Regions from separate parts of the Homo sapiens genome. Here region 1 is linked to region 2. The links are contacts of gene promoters, found by promoter capture Hi-C in blood cells and fetal thymus (Javierre and others, 2016). All regions are on one chromosome and are shown on one strand. The core of a region is centred on a gene start or on the middle of the fragment in contact, and the rest is flanking DNA. Distances in the headings are between cores, read along the strand shown.

What was found. Contacts are between HindIII fragments. The CHiCAGO score rates a contact against its expected background, and 5 or more counts as called.
Region 1: a fragment that was not itself captured here is called in contact with the fragment with the promoter of PLSCR5-AS1 in region 2 in 1 of 17 cell types (monocytes); the score reaches 5.2 in monocytes.

Annotation. Positions count from the first base shown.
Region 1 is chr3:146,041,485-146,046,639 of GRCh38, forward strand. No RefSeq gene overlaps it. Among named protein-coding and RNA genes, the nearest start is that of LNCSRLR, 25 kb to the right of the region's middle. The HindIII fragment of the contact is 9,546 bases long and covers 1-5,155 here.
Region 2 is chr3:146,586,683-146,591,418 of GRCh38, forward strand. PLSCR5-AS1 (PLSCR5 antisense RNA 1) reads left to right here and starts at 2,920. Exons shown (of 2, transcript NR_046698.1): 1 at 2,920-3,106; 2 at 3,381-3,643. PLSCR5 (phospholipid scramblase family member 5) reads right to left here. Exons shown (of 8, transcript NM_001085420.2): 6 at 2,971-3,132. The HindIII fragment of the contact is 1,724 bases long and covers 1,386-3,109 here.

The sequences.
Region 1 (5,155 bases), core at 2,604-5,103, 540 kb before region 2:
TTTATTTTTTGCTCATGACTTCCACCCACAATTTAAGGCCTTTTCCATCATAACTAAGCACTTATCATGCACTGTGCCCATAAATTTTTCAGTTTGAGTAGCAAGAGCAAAACTAGCACAATTTTCTTTTTTCTATTTCACGATTTCATGTATAGAAAATTTATTATTACTGTATTAGTCAGTTCTCAGGCTGCTGATAAAGAGATACCCAAGACTGGGAAGTAAAAGAGGTTTTATGGACTTACAGTTCTGCGGGGCTAGGGAGGCCTCACAATCATGGCAGAAAGCAAGAAGGAGCAAGTCACATTTTACGTGGATGGCTGCAGGCAAAGAGAGAGCTTGTGCAGGGAAATTCCCATTTTTAAAACCATCAGATCTCTTGAGACTCATTCACTATCACAAAAACAGTCCAAGAAAGACCTGCTCCCATAATTCAATCACCTCCCACCAGATTCCTCCCATGACACATGGGAATTGTGGGAGTAACAATTCAAGATGAGATTTGGGTGGGAACACAGCCAAACCATACCATTCCACCACAGGCCCTCCCAAATCTCATGTACCCACACTTCGAAACAAATCATGCCTTCCTAACAGCCTCCCAAAGTCTTAACTCATTTCAGCATTAACTCAAAAGTCCACAGTCCAGCGTCTCATCTGAGACAAGGCAAGTCCCTTCCACCTATGAGCCGGTAAAATCAAAAGCAAGTTAGTTAATTCCTAGTTACAATGTGGGTACAGGCACTGGGTAAATAGGGCCATTCCAAATGGAAGAAATTGGCCAAAGCAAAGGGGCTACAGGCCCCATGCAAGCCAAAAATCCAGTGGGACAGTCAAATATTAAAGCTCCAAAATGATCTCCTTTGACTCCGTGTTTCACGTCCAGGTCACGCTGATGCAAGAGGTGAGTGCCCATGGTCTTGGGCAGCTCTGCCCCTGTAGCTTTCCAGGATACAGCCTCCCTCCCAGCTGCTTTCACAGGGTGTGTGGCTGTGTGTGGCTTCTCCAGGCGCATAGTGCAAGCTATCAGTGGATCTACCATTCTGGGGTCTGGAGGATAGTGGCCCTTCTCTCACAGCTCCACTAGGCAGTGCCCCATTAGGAACTCTACGTGGAGGCTCTAACCACATATTTTCCTTCCACACTGCCCTAGCAGAGGTTCTCCAGGAGATCCCTGGCCCTGCAGCAACCTTCTGTCTTTATATAAATGTCTTTATATTCAGGCATTTCTATATATTCTCTGAAATCTAGACAGAGGTTCCCAAACCTCAATTCTTGACCTCTGTCCACCCAGAGGCTCAAAACCATGTGGAAGCTGCCAAGGCTTGAGACTAGCAGCCTCTGAAGCCATGGCAAAAGCTCTACATCAGCTCCTTTCAGCCACGGCCGGAGCGACTGGGAAGCAGGACACAAAGTCCCTAGGCTGCACACAGCATGGGGACTCTGGGCCTGGCCCACAAAACCACTTTTTCTTCCTAGGCCTCTGGGCTTGTGATGGGAGGGGCTGCTGTGAAGACCTCTGACATACCCTGGAGACATTTCCTCCTTTGTCTTTGGGATTATCATTCATCTCCTCGTTACTTCTGCAAATTTCTGCAACTGGCTTGAATTTCTCCTCAGAAAATGGAATTTTCTTTTCTATTGCATTATGAGGCTACAGATTTTCCAAATTTTTATGCTCTGTTTCCCTTTTAAAACTGAATGCCTTTACCAGCACCCAAGTAATATTTTGAATACATTGCTGCTTAGAAACTTCTTCCACCAGACACCCTAAATCATCTTTCTCAAGCTCAAAGTTCCACAAATCTCTAGGGTAGGGGCAAAATGCTGCCAGTCTCTTTGCTAAAACATAATGAGAATCGCCATTGTTCCAGTTCCAACAAGTTCCTCATTTCTATCTGAGACCACCTTAGCCTGGACTTTATTGTCCATATCGCTATCAGCATTTTGGGCAAAGCCATTCAAGAAGTCTCTAGGAAGTTCCAAACTTTCCCATATTTTTCTGTCTTCTTCTGAGCCCTCCAAACTCTTCCAACCTCTGCCTGTTACCCAGTTCCAAAGTCACTTCCACATTTTCTGGTATCTTTACAGCAATGCCCCACTCTACTGGTACCAATTTACTGTATTAGTCTGTTCTCATGCTGCTGATAAAGACATTCCCAAGACTGGGAAGAAAAAGAGTTTTAATGGACTTAGAGTTCCACATGGCTGAGGAGGCCACACAATCTTGGGGGAAAGCAAGGAGGAGCAAGTCATATCTTACGTGGTTGGTAGCAGACAAAGAGAGAGCTTGTGCAGGGAAACTCCTGTATTTAAAACCATCAGATCTCATGAGACTCATTCACTTTCATGAGAACAGCTCAGGAAAGACCCACTCCCATAATTCAATCACCTCCCACCAGGTTCCTCCCACAACATGTGAGAATTGTGGGAGTTACAATTCAAGATGAGATTTGGGTGGGGACACAGCCAAACCATGTTAATTACCTTAGATCTTACCAACCTCAGCATACAACTTTTTTCTTTTTTTTTTTCTTTTTTGCTTTCCTTAATTCAAGAGACTTCATCTTTTTACTTAAAGGAAGCACAATACAGTTTCTCTTTAGTGTATCCAAGTTGTCAGCATCATTACTCTTGTGCTTTGAGGCCATTATTAATTAAAATAAGGGCTAATTGAACAGAACACAGTGATACAGTGATACTCAACAAGCTGGGCAGTAAGTGACTAATAGGCAGGTGGTGTGCACAGCAAGAATATGCTGAACAAAGCAATGATTCACATTCCAGTTAGGACAGAGTGGGATGGTGTGAGATTTTATCACACAATTCAGAACTGTGTGCAATTTAAAACTTATGAAGTGGTATTATTAGCATTTTCCATTTAATATTTTCAGACCACAGTTTGCTGAAGGTATCTGAAACCACTGAAAGTGAGGCTATGGATAAGGGATACTACTGTATTATGAGACAAGGATGATTATCAAAAGGCCAGATTTAGAAGCAGAATATCAAGAATTCAATTGGGGATATGATAGGTTTGAGATGTCCATTGTAGATCTAAGTGGAGATGTGGAGTAACAGTTGAGTATATAAACTGAAATTTGAGCTAGGTGTAATCTCTTGCATTACTCCATTCTCAAATGGCTATAAAGAAATACCTGAGACTGGGTAGTTTATAAAGAAAAGAGGTTTAATTGACTTACAGTTCTGCAGATTGTAAAGGAGACATGGCTGGGAGACCTCAGGAAACTTAACAGTTACAGCAGAAGGAGAAGGAGAGGCAAGTATGTCTTACAATGGCAAAGCAGGAGAGAGAACAAAGGGGGAAAGGCTACACACTTTTAAACCACAAGATCTTGTGAAAACTCACTCAGTATCTTGAGAACGACAAGAGGAAAATCTGCCCCCATGATTCAATCACCTCCCATGAGACCCTCTCCTCTAAAACATGGGAATGACAATTTGACATGAGAATTGTGTGGGGACACAGAACCAAACCATATCATTCCACCATGGCTCCTCCCAAATCTCATGTCCTTCTCACATTTCAAAACAGAATCATGCCTTCCCAATAGTCCCCCAGGTCTTAACTCATTTCAGCATTAACTCAAAATCCAAGTCCAAAGTCTCATCTGAGACAAAGCAAGTCTCTTCTGCCTATGAGCCTGTAAAATAAAAAACAAGTTAGTTACTTCAAAGATACAAGGGGGGTAGAGGCATTGGGTAAATTTCTCCCATTCCAAAAGGGAGAAATTGGCCAAAACAAAGGGGTTACAGGCCCCATACAAGTCCAAAACCAAGCAGGAAACTCATTAAATCTTAAAGCTCCAAAATAATCTCCTTTCAGTCCATGTCTTACATCCAGGGCATGCTTATGTAAGGGGTGGGCTCCTACGGCCTTGGGCAGCTCTTCCCCTATGGCTCTTCAGGGTACAGCCACCACAGCTGCTTTCACAGGATGGTGTTCGGTGCGTATGGCTTTTCCAGACACATAGTGCAAGCTGTTGGTTGAACCATCATTCAGGAATCTGAAGGACAGTGGCTCTCTTCTCACAGCTCTACTAGGCACTGCCCCAGTGGGGAGTCTGCATGGAGGCTCCAACCTCACATTTCCCCTCTGCACTGCCCTAGTAGAGGTTCTTCATGAGGTCTCCACCCTTGCAGCAGATTTCTACCTGGATATGCAGGTGTTTCTGTACATCCTATGAAATCTAGGCAAAGGCTCCCAAACTCCAACTCTTGCCTTCTGCACACCACAGGCCCAACACCATGTGGAAGCTGCCAAGGCTTGGGACTTGCCCCCTCTGAAGTCATGACCCAAGCTGTACCTTGGTCCCTATTAGCCATAGCTGGAGTTGGAGTGGCTGGGACACAGGGTGCCATGTCCCAAGGCTGTACAGAGCAACGGGGCCTTGGGCCTGGCCCCAGAAAATGGGATTTTCTTTTCTACCACATGGTCAGGCTCTGTTTGTGAGCACATATAACTGAATGCTTTCAGCATCAACCAGGTCAACTCTTGAATGCTTTGCTGCTTAGAAATGTCTTCTACCAGATACCCTAAATCTTCTCTTTAAGTTCAAAGTTCCATAGATCCCTAAAGCAGGGGTACAATGCTGCCAGTCTCTTTGCTAAAGCATAGCAAGAGTGACCTTTACTCAAGTTCCCAATAAGTTCCCCATCTCCACCTAAGACCACCTCAGCCTAGACTTCACTGTCCATATCACTATTAGCATTATGGTCACAGCCATTCAACAAGTCTCCAGGAAGTTCCAAACATTTCCTCATCTTCCTGTCATTTTCTTATCTCTCTGAACTGTTCCAACACTTCCCCATTATCCAGTTCCAACGTCACTTCTACATTTTCAGGTGTCTTTATACTCCACTCTCGGTACAAATTTTCTGTAATAGTTCTTACTCACCTTGCTAAAAGAACTGTCTGAGACTGGGTAGTTTATAAAGAAAAGAGGTTTAATTGACTCACAATTCTGCAGGCTATGCAAGAAGCATGGCTGGGAGGCCTCAGAAAACTTACAAGAAAAGAGAAGGGGAAGCAAGCATGTCTTCTCATGGCAGGGCAGGAGAGAGAGCAAAGGGGAAAGTGCAACACACTATTTATTTATTTATTTATTTATTTATTTATTTATTTATTTGAGAT
Region 2 (4,736 bases), core at 1,670-4,169:
GGAGGAGTGGTGGGTTGTGAAGCCGTATCTTGGAACCAGAAGAGACCAAAAATTAGATTTCATTTGTGATTTAGATTTGTATTTAAATGAGGAAATAACCTTATACCAGCAGCTTTCTAAAGCTTTCGCCTGAATAAAATAGAAACAGCAATTAAAAATTAAAAACATAATTCTTTCTATAAAATTATGTATAAGGAAAGTAATTTATCTTGGTAATACATGTAAGAAATAGTTTTATAAGCTATATTGGCTGGCAAAAAAAGGCAAATGTTTTACAATATGATGGTAAAAAGAAAAAAAGAGAAATGAATGGGAGTCATTAACTATTCTCAGTGAACATTTCTCCCTTAAATGCTGGAGTTTAAAAGTTATCCTTTTAGATGATTAGGGTATTATCTAGATCAGTGCTTCTTAAATTTATAGTGCATAGAGGAAGCACCTGGGCATCTTGTTCAAGTGCAGGTCCTGATGCATCTGGGGTGGGATCTGAGATTCTTTGCTTTGAGCGAGCTTCTAGGTGGTGCAGATGCTTGCACTTTGCACCACACTTTGAGTATGACCTAGATCAACCTTTACGGAACCTACATCTCATCAATCTCTCAAAGCATATGGACTAAGAAATACATGCTTTTTCAAGAAGAACATATGTTTAGAGGGTTTCTGAAACAATAAGAAAAACTGATAAGGTTTAAAATACAGAGAACTGTAGTTCCAATTTTGGCAGTACATTTTAACTATCAGCTTGTTATGTAAAATAGGTGAGTAGGGCAGATTAAAAAGGATCTATTTCTAAATATTAACGTTAAGTGTGGGGCTTAATCAGAAAGGCCTAATGAAGATCTTGGGGAAAGGGTGTGTGTGTGGAGGGGTTGGTGTTGAAGTCAGAATGATCAAAGATGGGAACAGTAAGCAAAGGAAGGGTGACAAGTTAAAAGCACTGTCCAGTGGATAGAGGAGAATAGGGAAGAGATGACATTAGGCAACAGGCAAGGTGGACTAAGCTGGTTAGATTTGCAGATGAAAATGGGAGTTGAGAGTAAGTGACAACTTAGTAAGTTTAAAAACCTAGCACTCTATAGATATTACTTCCATCTTCTACCAATAATAGGAGACTGGTAAGTTAAAATAATTCCTCTGAAATCCTGGAGAAATAATCCTAATATACATACTTGTATATGTATATGTATATGTATATATGCATATATATATACATATATATCTATGTATTAAATTCTGAGTTTCAGTGAAGTCATCAGGGAATAATTTTTAGTTCATATATTTTCCAAATATCATTAGAAGAGACTCAGTAAATAGGGCATTAATGTAAACAATCAGATTTAGCATTCTGAAACCCCAGAAAACAATAAAACATGAGAAGGAATTTAAGCTTTATAAAAATTTCATGATTACCAAAAGTGCATAACCTGAATCTAACCATGACACAAACTGAAATTAGGCCACAGTTTACAAAATAATTGGCTTATGCACTTAAAAAATGCCAATGTCGGCTGGGCAAGGTGGCTCACACCTATAATCCCAGCACTTTGGGAGGCCAAAGCGGGTGGATCACGAGGTCAGAAGATCGAGACCATCCTGGCTAACACAGTGAAACCCCATCTCTACTAAAAATACAAAAAAATTAGCCGGGTATGGTGGCACATGCCTGTAATCCCAGCTACTCGGGAGGCTGAGGCAGGAGAATCGCTTGAACCTGGGAGGCAGAGGTTGTGGTGAGCCAAGATTGCGCCACTGCACTCCAGCCTGGGTGACAGAGTGAGACTCTATCTCAAAAAATAGAACAAAAAATAAAACAAAAACAAAAATGCCAATGTCATGAGACTCAGGGAAATGCACATGCATGTGCACATGTTCATGCACACACATATACACACACACACACCCCTTAGGAACAGTTCCAGGTGAAAAGAAACAAATGAGATGTGACAAAATGGACATACTTCATGATCTTGGATTTTCTATTGTCAGAAAGGACATCATTATGCAAATCAGTGCAAACCGAATAAAGTCTGTAGATTAGATAATAGCATTGAATCAGTGTTTAGTGCCTGACTTTGACAATAGTACTGTGATGTGTAAAAAAATTCCTTGTTTTTAGGAAATGCACACTAATATAATTAGGGGAAAAGGCATCATGTCTGCAACCTACTCTCAACTCTTATGCTGTTTGTTTTAATCACTTATGTGTGTGCCTGTGTATACACATCTTTTTCATGTATTTATAGAAAATACATGTGTTTATATATCAACAAATAAAAACTCCATAAGTTTTTATGGCTGCATTGAAAATGGTAGGAAATTAGGTAAATATTAGAGGGAAAACTAAGAACAGGATATAGGTCAAGCATTTTGATACAGGTATTATTTGACTTCTGTTCTTCTATCACCAATCTCCATATACCAAAGAAGAAAAGGTTTTCAATATAATTGTAAGTTGGAAAGTAATAACAAGAACATAGTATCTTAGAAATAATGGCAACTGGTACCTATTAACTCATCAAATCATTTCATGTGTCTATGTTCACACTGAGAAGGCAACATTCTTAATATCATCTAGCTCACTATTATGCAATGAACCAGTCTGGAACTTTATCCAGGATAAATCATGTGATATTTATGTTTGCATATTTTTTAGTTCAAGTGAAAATAAGCCAAAAATCTAAATTGAACGTAAAAGCAAGGGGAAACTAGGTTTTAAAGAAATGATGAATAGGATGTGATAACACTTCAATCTTTGAGAAAGGGGATATGAGATCACTGAAGAGGGGCTGCCTAACAGAAATGCAGGGTTCTAAATTCTAATTTTTGAAGAACATTGGTCCTAAGCTATCCTTCTATGAATAAAATATACTCTTTGGGGGTAAAAACTGTGTAAATGGGATAGGCTATATTGTAATTAACAAGCAAGAGGGAGAATAACAAATCACTCATGCTCTCAAAGCCCATACTTACAAAGAGAAAACAGGCACCGATCATTGCTGCTTTGACTGTTACATCTAGATCTGCAGGAACATGAATTCCGAAATTGTCAGCATTTGTGAAGACATCATTTACAAATCCTGACCAGTACTTTGAAATCTTCCCAATTGTAAGCTTTTCATTAATGGTTTTCACCTTTAGAAAGAAAATAAGGAGTATTAAATTTGACAGTGAAAAAAGTTGGTTTTATACTTCTGAGGGTGTTTACTTCATGAGAGATTTGAATTATTTTATTTGTCATCTTCAAAATGACAATTCCATGTTATTCATTCCATCATATAAGCATAGGTTTGTAAATTTAGCTTTTCAGTTTACTTTTTAGAAACTTTGCTTTTTTGACAGTTTTCTAGTCCATCATAATTCTTTTTCTTTTTTGTATGCAGATGGAGAATATCAGGATAAATAATTAAGGCTCAGCCACCACAAGATGGCAGCAGGTACATAGTTCAATTGTATCATCTAAGCATGAAGGCGATTTCTTTACTTGAGGTCCAGATTTTAAACCTGAATTCTCCATCTTAAAAATGTAAAAGAAGATATGTTTGAAAAAATATTTCAGAAGGAATTAAATTAATTTCTAGGCATAATTTGTAAACTTTCAAATTTCAGTTGCTAAAATTTTATAATTATTAAAACATTTAAATATTATTGGCCATTGTTAAATCACATTTTTATATTATACTCAGACATTTATTAGGTCAATACTTTCTAACAAATCCTAAATCCTATTTTTACATTAAAAAAATCCTCCTGGTTAATGTACCATATAGGAAGTTAAGACCAACTAGACATCAATCAGTCCTTCTCAGCTAGAAGGAGTTCACAAATCAACTTTATCAGCTATTTGTTTGTTTATTCTGCTTCCCATCCTGATGCTGAAAGTAATTCAAGAGAAACTATCACTTTTTTCAGGGTAGTAAAAGATAGAGAATAGAGAGGGTTACTTAGGACATTTCTATAGCATGAATGCTAAAACTCTTATGTTTAAAGTCCTCCTCAATCATATTACTCGTAGGAAAGTCATGCCAAATCCTTTGGGGATAGGGTGAAGTTGGAACAGCTCAGTTTGCAAAATTTGCATTGTATTCTACGTGCATAGTGTTTCCTGAAGTCCTGAGAACTAAATGCCCTTGCTGAGATATTTATGTATGAATGGATGAAAAATAAATATACACTTTCAATTAGGCTGTCTCCTCTACCTAAGTTGTATGTCCAGGACAACCTGTTAAGATAGTTTATATTGCTACAGATCAAATTTACAACTTTCTATTTTTTAAATATTCAATTTATACAAATACGAGAATAAGGTTTTTTTTTGTTTTTTTTTTTTGTTTTTTTTACAAAACTAACTTAGCAAGTCTTAGAAACACAGCTTTTGAGTTAATGCTGTTTTAATGTAACGTGCTGCTGAAATGAGATCTAAACTGGGATATGTGATCTCAAGGCCCATAGGAAAGAAGATACATAATTTAGGTGATTCTAAACTGTATATATTGGCTTTATTGCCATGTGTCCTGTGATTCTACATAAATAAAACATACTGAAACAAGAATGAAGTGCTAATTTTCAAAATCAGGAAATATTGGTTATCTTAAAAAGGCAAAGCTATGTGTCCAAAAATTTTTGATGTTCAAAGTCTTGCACACATTAAAATAGCAACACATTTACTATTCTAATCAAAGAGATATAGTAGCTTTGTCCATAGAACACATAGAATTATATTTAGCTAAACATGCTTT